Linked DNA regions of Homo sapiens: region 1 is linked to region 2. Evidence: promoter capture Hi-C in human tissues and cell types (Jung and others, 2019). All regions are on one chromosome and are shown on one strand. Each heading gives the region's core, a stretch centred on a gene start or on the middle of the fragment in contact. The rest is flanking DNA. Distances are from core to core; before and after follow the strand shown. Region 1 overlaps LINC01301 (long intergenic non-protein coding RNA 1301). Region 2 holds the start of CHD7 (chromodomain helicase DNA binding protein 7).

Evidence for each region. The method cuts DNA at HindIII sites, captures the fragments that hold promoters and counts their contacts. A contact is called where the count stands out against the background at its distance.
Region 1: a fragment that was not itself captured here is called in contact with the fragment with the promoter of CHD7 in region 2 in 1 of the 25 tissues and cell types used here (dorsolateral prefrontal cortex).

What each region holds. Positions count from the first base shown.
Region 1 is chr8:60,405,372-60,408,071 of GRCh38, reverse strand. All of the region lies in intron 2 of LINC01301 (long intergenic non-protein coding RNA 1301), which reads left to right. Among named protein-coding and RNA genes, the nearest start is that of LINC01301, 7.1 kb to the left of the region's middle. The HindIII fragment of the contact is 9,187 bases long and covers 1-2,700 here.
Region 2 is chr8:60,677,420-60,680,223 of GRCh38, reverse strand. CHD7 (chromodomain helicase DNA binding protein 7) reads right to left here and starts at 1,484. Exons shown (of 38, transcript NM_017780.4): 1 at 1,142-1,484. RefSeq lists silencers at 7-376, 1,037-1,136, 1,497-1,936. The HindIII fragment of the contact is 11,242 bases long and covers 1-2,804 here.

The DNA.
Region 1 (2,700 bases), core at 101-2,600, 270 kb after region 2:
CCTGGGCTGGAGTGCAGTGGCACGATTTTGGTTCACTGCACCCTCCTCCTCCTGGGTTCAAGTGATTCTCCTGCCTCAGCCTCCCAAGAAGCTGTGATTACAGGCACCCACCAGCATGCCCAGCTAATTTTTTGTTTTTAGTAGAGACAGGGTTTTGCCATGTTGGCCATGCTGCTCTTGAGCTCCTGACCTCAAGTGATCCACCTGCCTCGGCCTCCCAAAGTGCTGGGATTACAGGTGTGAGCCACCATGGCTGTTTAAACCTTCCCACACTGGTTTCCCATGGTAAGGAACACCCTCATTCATATCACTTTAAGACACATCTTAGTTAATATCCCGTATCTCCAGCTGTTCAATTCCCTCTCCCTCTAACTTTACAGTTTTTACTCCATTTTTGCTCAAATGCCTTATTCTGAGCATGCCTCTGCCACATGGCTGCTCTTGGAATGTAGGAAAACCATCACATGCTAGGACTGGGATTCCAAAACATTTCCTCCATAAAGGAAACCACCAGCCACTGTGGGGCAGCTCTATGTGTAGAACTCTCAGCTCACTGTCACCTAAGGGGCTGGCTGTAGCTTAGTCTTCCCAAGAAATCCACTGCTGTGTATATACACGCAGTAGCCACTGAACCACCTGCTGAGCCACAATGCATGCTTGGGTTGGCCTTGATGCCATTGTTCCCTGGGTGGAACCCCACCCCCTCCAACCCCCAACCCAAGAGGCCTATTTGCTCCATGTTTGCTTTTTAGGGTAAAAGAGAGAGGCAAAAGGCCCATGGTAATGCTAGACTTTGGAAGTAAGTCTCAGAGAATAATGATGCTGAAAAGAAAGATAAAATTTTGCTGACAATTATAATACATAGTGAAGGTGTAGAGTTTCTAGTTCCTGTTGAAATGAAAAAGAATTGGGTCTCTACTTGGAGGGTGAGAAGGATGGAGTCTAGGGAAAAAGGGATGTTTGAGTTCCAGATATCCGTTTATGTGTGAGAGTTATAGAGTGGATGGAAATGGAATGGTTTGCACTTTACAAAGCACTTCTAAGTATCCATCCATCCATGCATACATCCATCATTTATTTATTTAGCATATTCCAGGGTTCATTCTAGGCCATGAGAATGCAGAGGTGGAAAGAGGAAAATCTCAGTCTATTTGGTGGTACAGGCAGCACAAAAGGTCATTACAATGTGATATGCCAAGAATTGTGAAGAGGCCATTGATGGCTGGGCGCAGTGGCTCATGCCTGTAATCCCACCACTTTGGGAGGCCAAGACAGGTGGATCACGAGGTCAGGTGTTTGAGACCAGCCTGACCAACATGGTGAAACCCTGTCTCCACTAAAAATACAAAAATTAGCCAGGCGTGGTGGCACCAGCCTGTAATTCCAGCTACTCGGGAGGCTGAGGAGGTTGCAGTGAGCCGAGATCGCGCCACTGCACTCCAGCCTGGGTGACAGAGTGAGACTCCGTCTCAAAAAAAAAAAAAAAAAAAAAAAGCCATTGATAACTGTAAAGAGGCCTTTAATGGGATATTAGGGCGCACAGAAGGACTAAGTCAGGAAACACAAAGTGGAGACAATTAGCCTGGATTTTGCAGAACATGTAGGAGTTTGCTATGTGGAGAAGAGGAAGAGAGCATTTTAGATGCAGGCAAAGGCCTGGAGTTACATACAAAAAGGAGCTGATCTCTGGAGGTTGGGATTTTGACCAGTTCTGTGGGTGATTGGAGCGATTTTGATTAGGCAAAATCAGCCCAGATGAAGTAAGGAAGGGGGGAGAAGAAACTCACCTGACCCCCTTCCTGCACCTTTGCTGGGTTTCATTCTTTTGTTGTCAGAGGGAATGGGCTTGGAAAGTGTGTAATGAAATAACAAAATGAATAACACTTTGAGAGAGTTGTTCTCACCCAGGGATGCACTTCAGAATCTCTTTGGGAAGTTTTTGAAATTTACATGGCCAGGCCTGACATCTGACTCAGAGGCCCAGGGTGGAGTCAGCACTGACCTGCTCTGCAGAGCTTCTCATGGTGTCCTTGGGTGGGAACACGTGTCACGTGTGTTTCCTCTACTGGGAGTATCTGCCTATCGGAAGAAAGGGCACAGGTGCTATACAGCCATCTCTGGAGATAGTGCCTGTGGAATTTTTCAGGGTAACTACACCCTTTATTCTGCTAGCTGGGTGAGAATTCTAATGATAGCAACGTCTGCCAGTGTTCCCAGGAATCTCAATTTCAGAAGATAGTTTCAAATAAGATTTTCTAATCTCTTCTAGAGTTCCAGAGTCTATTTACATCCCATTCCTTTGTTAATGTTTATAGTCAGGTTTTATCATCATATTAGAGATGGGGAAGAGGCTGATGGGGGCCTCCTTGGGTGTTGGCAGTGCTTGATTTCTTGCCTGGTTATTGATTCCATGGGTGTATTCATGTTGTATAAATTCAGTGAGGTGCTCATTGAGCATTTGTGCACTTTTCAGTAAATATATGATACTGCATTTAAAAGTCAATTTAAAAACAAATGAATATATTTAAGAGTTGAAATTACAGTACCATGAATGCAGAGACCGTTTTCCCCATGACTAAGTCCCCAAAGGCTGATGTACTCCTAGGATGACTGGCCCAGTGGCTCTGTGCTTTGCCAAGGATGCAGTCTGGCGCCCCAGCAGGGACACAGGGTCACCTGTGCAGAGAGCCTCCGTGGGCG
Region 2 (2,804 bases), core at 235-2,734:
CACCTCGGCCGTTCACGCTCCAAGCCGCGGCTCTCTGCGAGGGCAGAGCGCACCCGGGTCACCTCGGGGGCCACCTGGTGACCACCCCCCACCGGCGCTGACCCCCGGCGGGTTGGGGGGCGGGGGAGCCGAGTTGCGTTGGAAGGTTAAAGTCGCTATTATGCAGCTGCCGCCGCCGGCGGCCCGGCCAGCTCGACAAGGTGGGGTCCCCTCCTCGCCGCGCCTCCCGGCGCTCGCCCCGGCCCCGCTCCCTTTCTTCTCCTCCTAGCGCACTTGGGAGCCGCCGGGGAGCCCCAGGAGCCCCCAACTCCGGGCTCGCAACTCCGCGCCCGCGACCGGCACTGGCTGAGCTCGGGACGCCTCCCGCGCCGCGTGTTCGCGCTGCCCCCGCCCCACGCGGCGCCCCGCGCACTTTCCCCGCCGCCGACCCACCTCGCTCGGTGGCGGTCCCCGCGCGGGCTGGCGCCGCCGCGCCGGGAGGAACGCACTTTGTTCGCGCCGGTGCGGCCGCAGCTCCCGGCGAGCGCGGCGTGGTCGGTCCGGAGCGGGGGGCGGGGGCGGGAGGCGGGGGTCGCCGCCGTCCCCGAGCCGCCGCCGCCGCTGCTCAGCCGCCCCGCGCCCGCGCGCCCATCGCCCGCTCGCACTTGAGTTGGAGCCCAACTTTTCCTCCTTCCTTTTTCTCTCGAATGGAGCCGGCAACTCGTGCTCGGCGCCGGCGGGAGGAAACGCGCTCGCGCTCCCCCGCGCGCAGACACGCTCCCTCCTGTCCCCCGTACCCCCCCCCCACGCCGGCAGCACAACAAAAAGCCATTTACATGCGAGGAAGTGACCCTCGGCCGCACCGCGCGCCCCCGCCGCCGCCGGCCCGGCGGACGCAGGCAAAAGTTGGGGCGCCGGGCGGCGCTCGGGGCGCGGGTTCGGGCCCCGCGGGCGGCGACGCCGGCGACACTACGCGGGCGGCGCTGCGCTCCTGCGCTGGCCCCGGCCCCCTCCCGCCCTCGCCCCTCGCCCCTCGCCCCGCACACGCCCAACTCCTCGCTCCCAACTCCTAGCGCGGCCCCGGCCCCGGCCCGGAGCGATTTCCTGCCGCCGCCGCCGCCGCCGCCCCTCCCGGGGGCGCCGGGCGAACTCTCGCGCTCACCGGGTCGGTCGGGCTCCTCCGCTGCCTAGTGCCGAGGGGAAAACAAAACGCAGAGCGGGCTCCGGAGTTGGCTCGGCAGCTGCGGCCAGGGGGCTGAATCCACGGGCACGGAGTTGGCCGGGGGCGAACGGGTCTCTGGTGAGTTTCAGGGTGTCCGGGTCCCCGGGCCGCCTCCTCCGCGGCGCTCCTTTGTGTAATTTCACTCGATTCAAGTTTAATCCGATAGTTCCCGAGCACGAGCGCGTCCGCACCACCACGACTCAACCCCCGCGCCGCCGCCGCCGCCGCCGCTGCCGCCGCCGCCGCCGCCGCCGCCGCGGCCCCAGCACGCCAGCGCCTGCGCGCGTCCGGCACGCCGCGCGCACCCGAAGCCGCGGGGCCGCGCGCGCCCGCCGCCAGCTCCCTCCGGGCCGCGCCGCGCCCGCGCCCGCGCCCGCGCGCCGCCACCTGACGTCAGGCGCGCCTGGCATAATTTATGCAAGAATTCGGCCGGGGTGGCGGAGGCCGAGGGAGAGGCCGAGAGAAAAGGGGCGGCGCGGAGCTGCTGGGCCGCGGGCCGCGGGCCGCAAGGGCGGGCCGGGCGCCACTTCCCGTCCCCTGGCGGGCGCCGGCGCTTCAGGCGGGTCTCCCCGCCGGCCGGTGCGCTGCTGCCGCGGAGTCTTCCTTGCCCGGCTGCACGGAGCGCTCGGCCGCTGCGCCCGGGCGCGGACTGGAGGGGCTGCTGCCACGTCTCCCGCGCGGCACCTTCCCGGAGCCGGGTGCGCCGCCCCGGGGCAGGAAGCGGGGCTCCGGGAGGGCTGCGACCCTCCTGGCTGCCGCGAAGGGTTTCCGACGCTGCGCGGCCGGCGGCGGCCGGGGGTGACTGGCAGTCTCTGCAGTAATTATCCTTCAACTTGAAATTATTTTCCCACATGAAATTATTCGGAAGGGACATGTTCCATTCCAGATGGGTTCGTGCCTGCTTCTCCACATCGCTTTTCCCACCTCTTCGTGGATAGGACACCGGATCCACTACTTAATCAAAAAGTTTAACTAGATGGCATTGATTTTGTCGAATTTGTTACCATACCAAAAAAGAGAGAGAAGGCAGAGAGCTCAATGATTATGAAACAAAGAAATAGGATGTATGCCCATTATTAAACGTGTCGGGACTAGAATGTTTTACTCATTCTTTGGCCAAAATGGCACTTGTATCTGATTGCATAGTCTTAAAAATCCGAGCCTCTTATTCCATTTCTCTTCCCGGTACAAAATGAATGTTAAACCTGAAGAAAAAAAACTTTTTTTTACTAATTTTTATTTTAGGAAATAGATCTACAAACATGGATTAAGCCTCTTCTATCTGCAAAATACGGAGCAATTATAATGTGTTTAAACCATCAATTGTAAACTTTAAGATAATTTTATTAGGTTAAAGATTGCACTTATTTTAAAATCAGGAAAGGAACTCATATCAACCAAAGATTGCCCTATGGCAGGTACAGACTGACTGGTTATTACTGGACTCCAAAATAAACTGAGAAAATAGCAAAACTATGTAAAATGTACTAATCTCACTCACTGATGGTTACACTACCTGTAGTGCTAAGCCTGTAATCACAATATTGTTATTTGGACAAAAGATTAATCAAAACTATCTCATTAAGTAACTACTGCAACTATT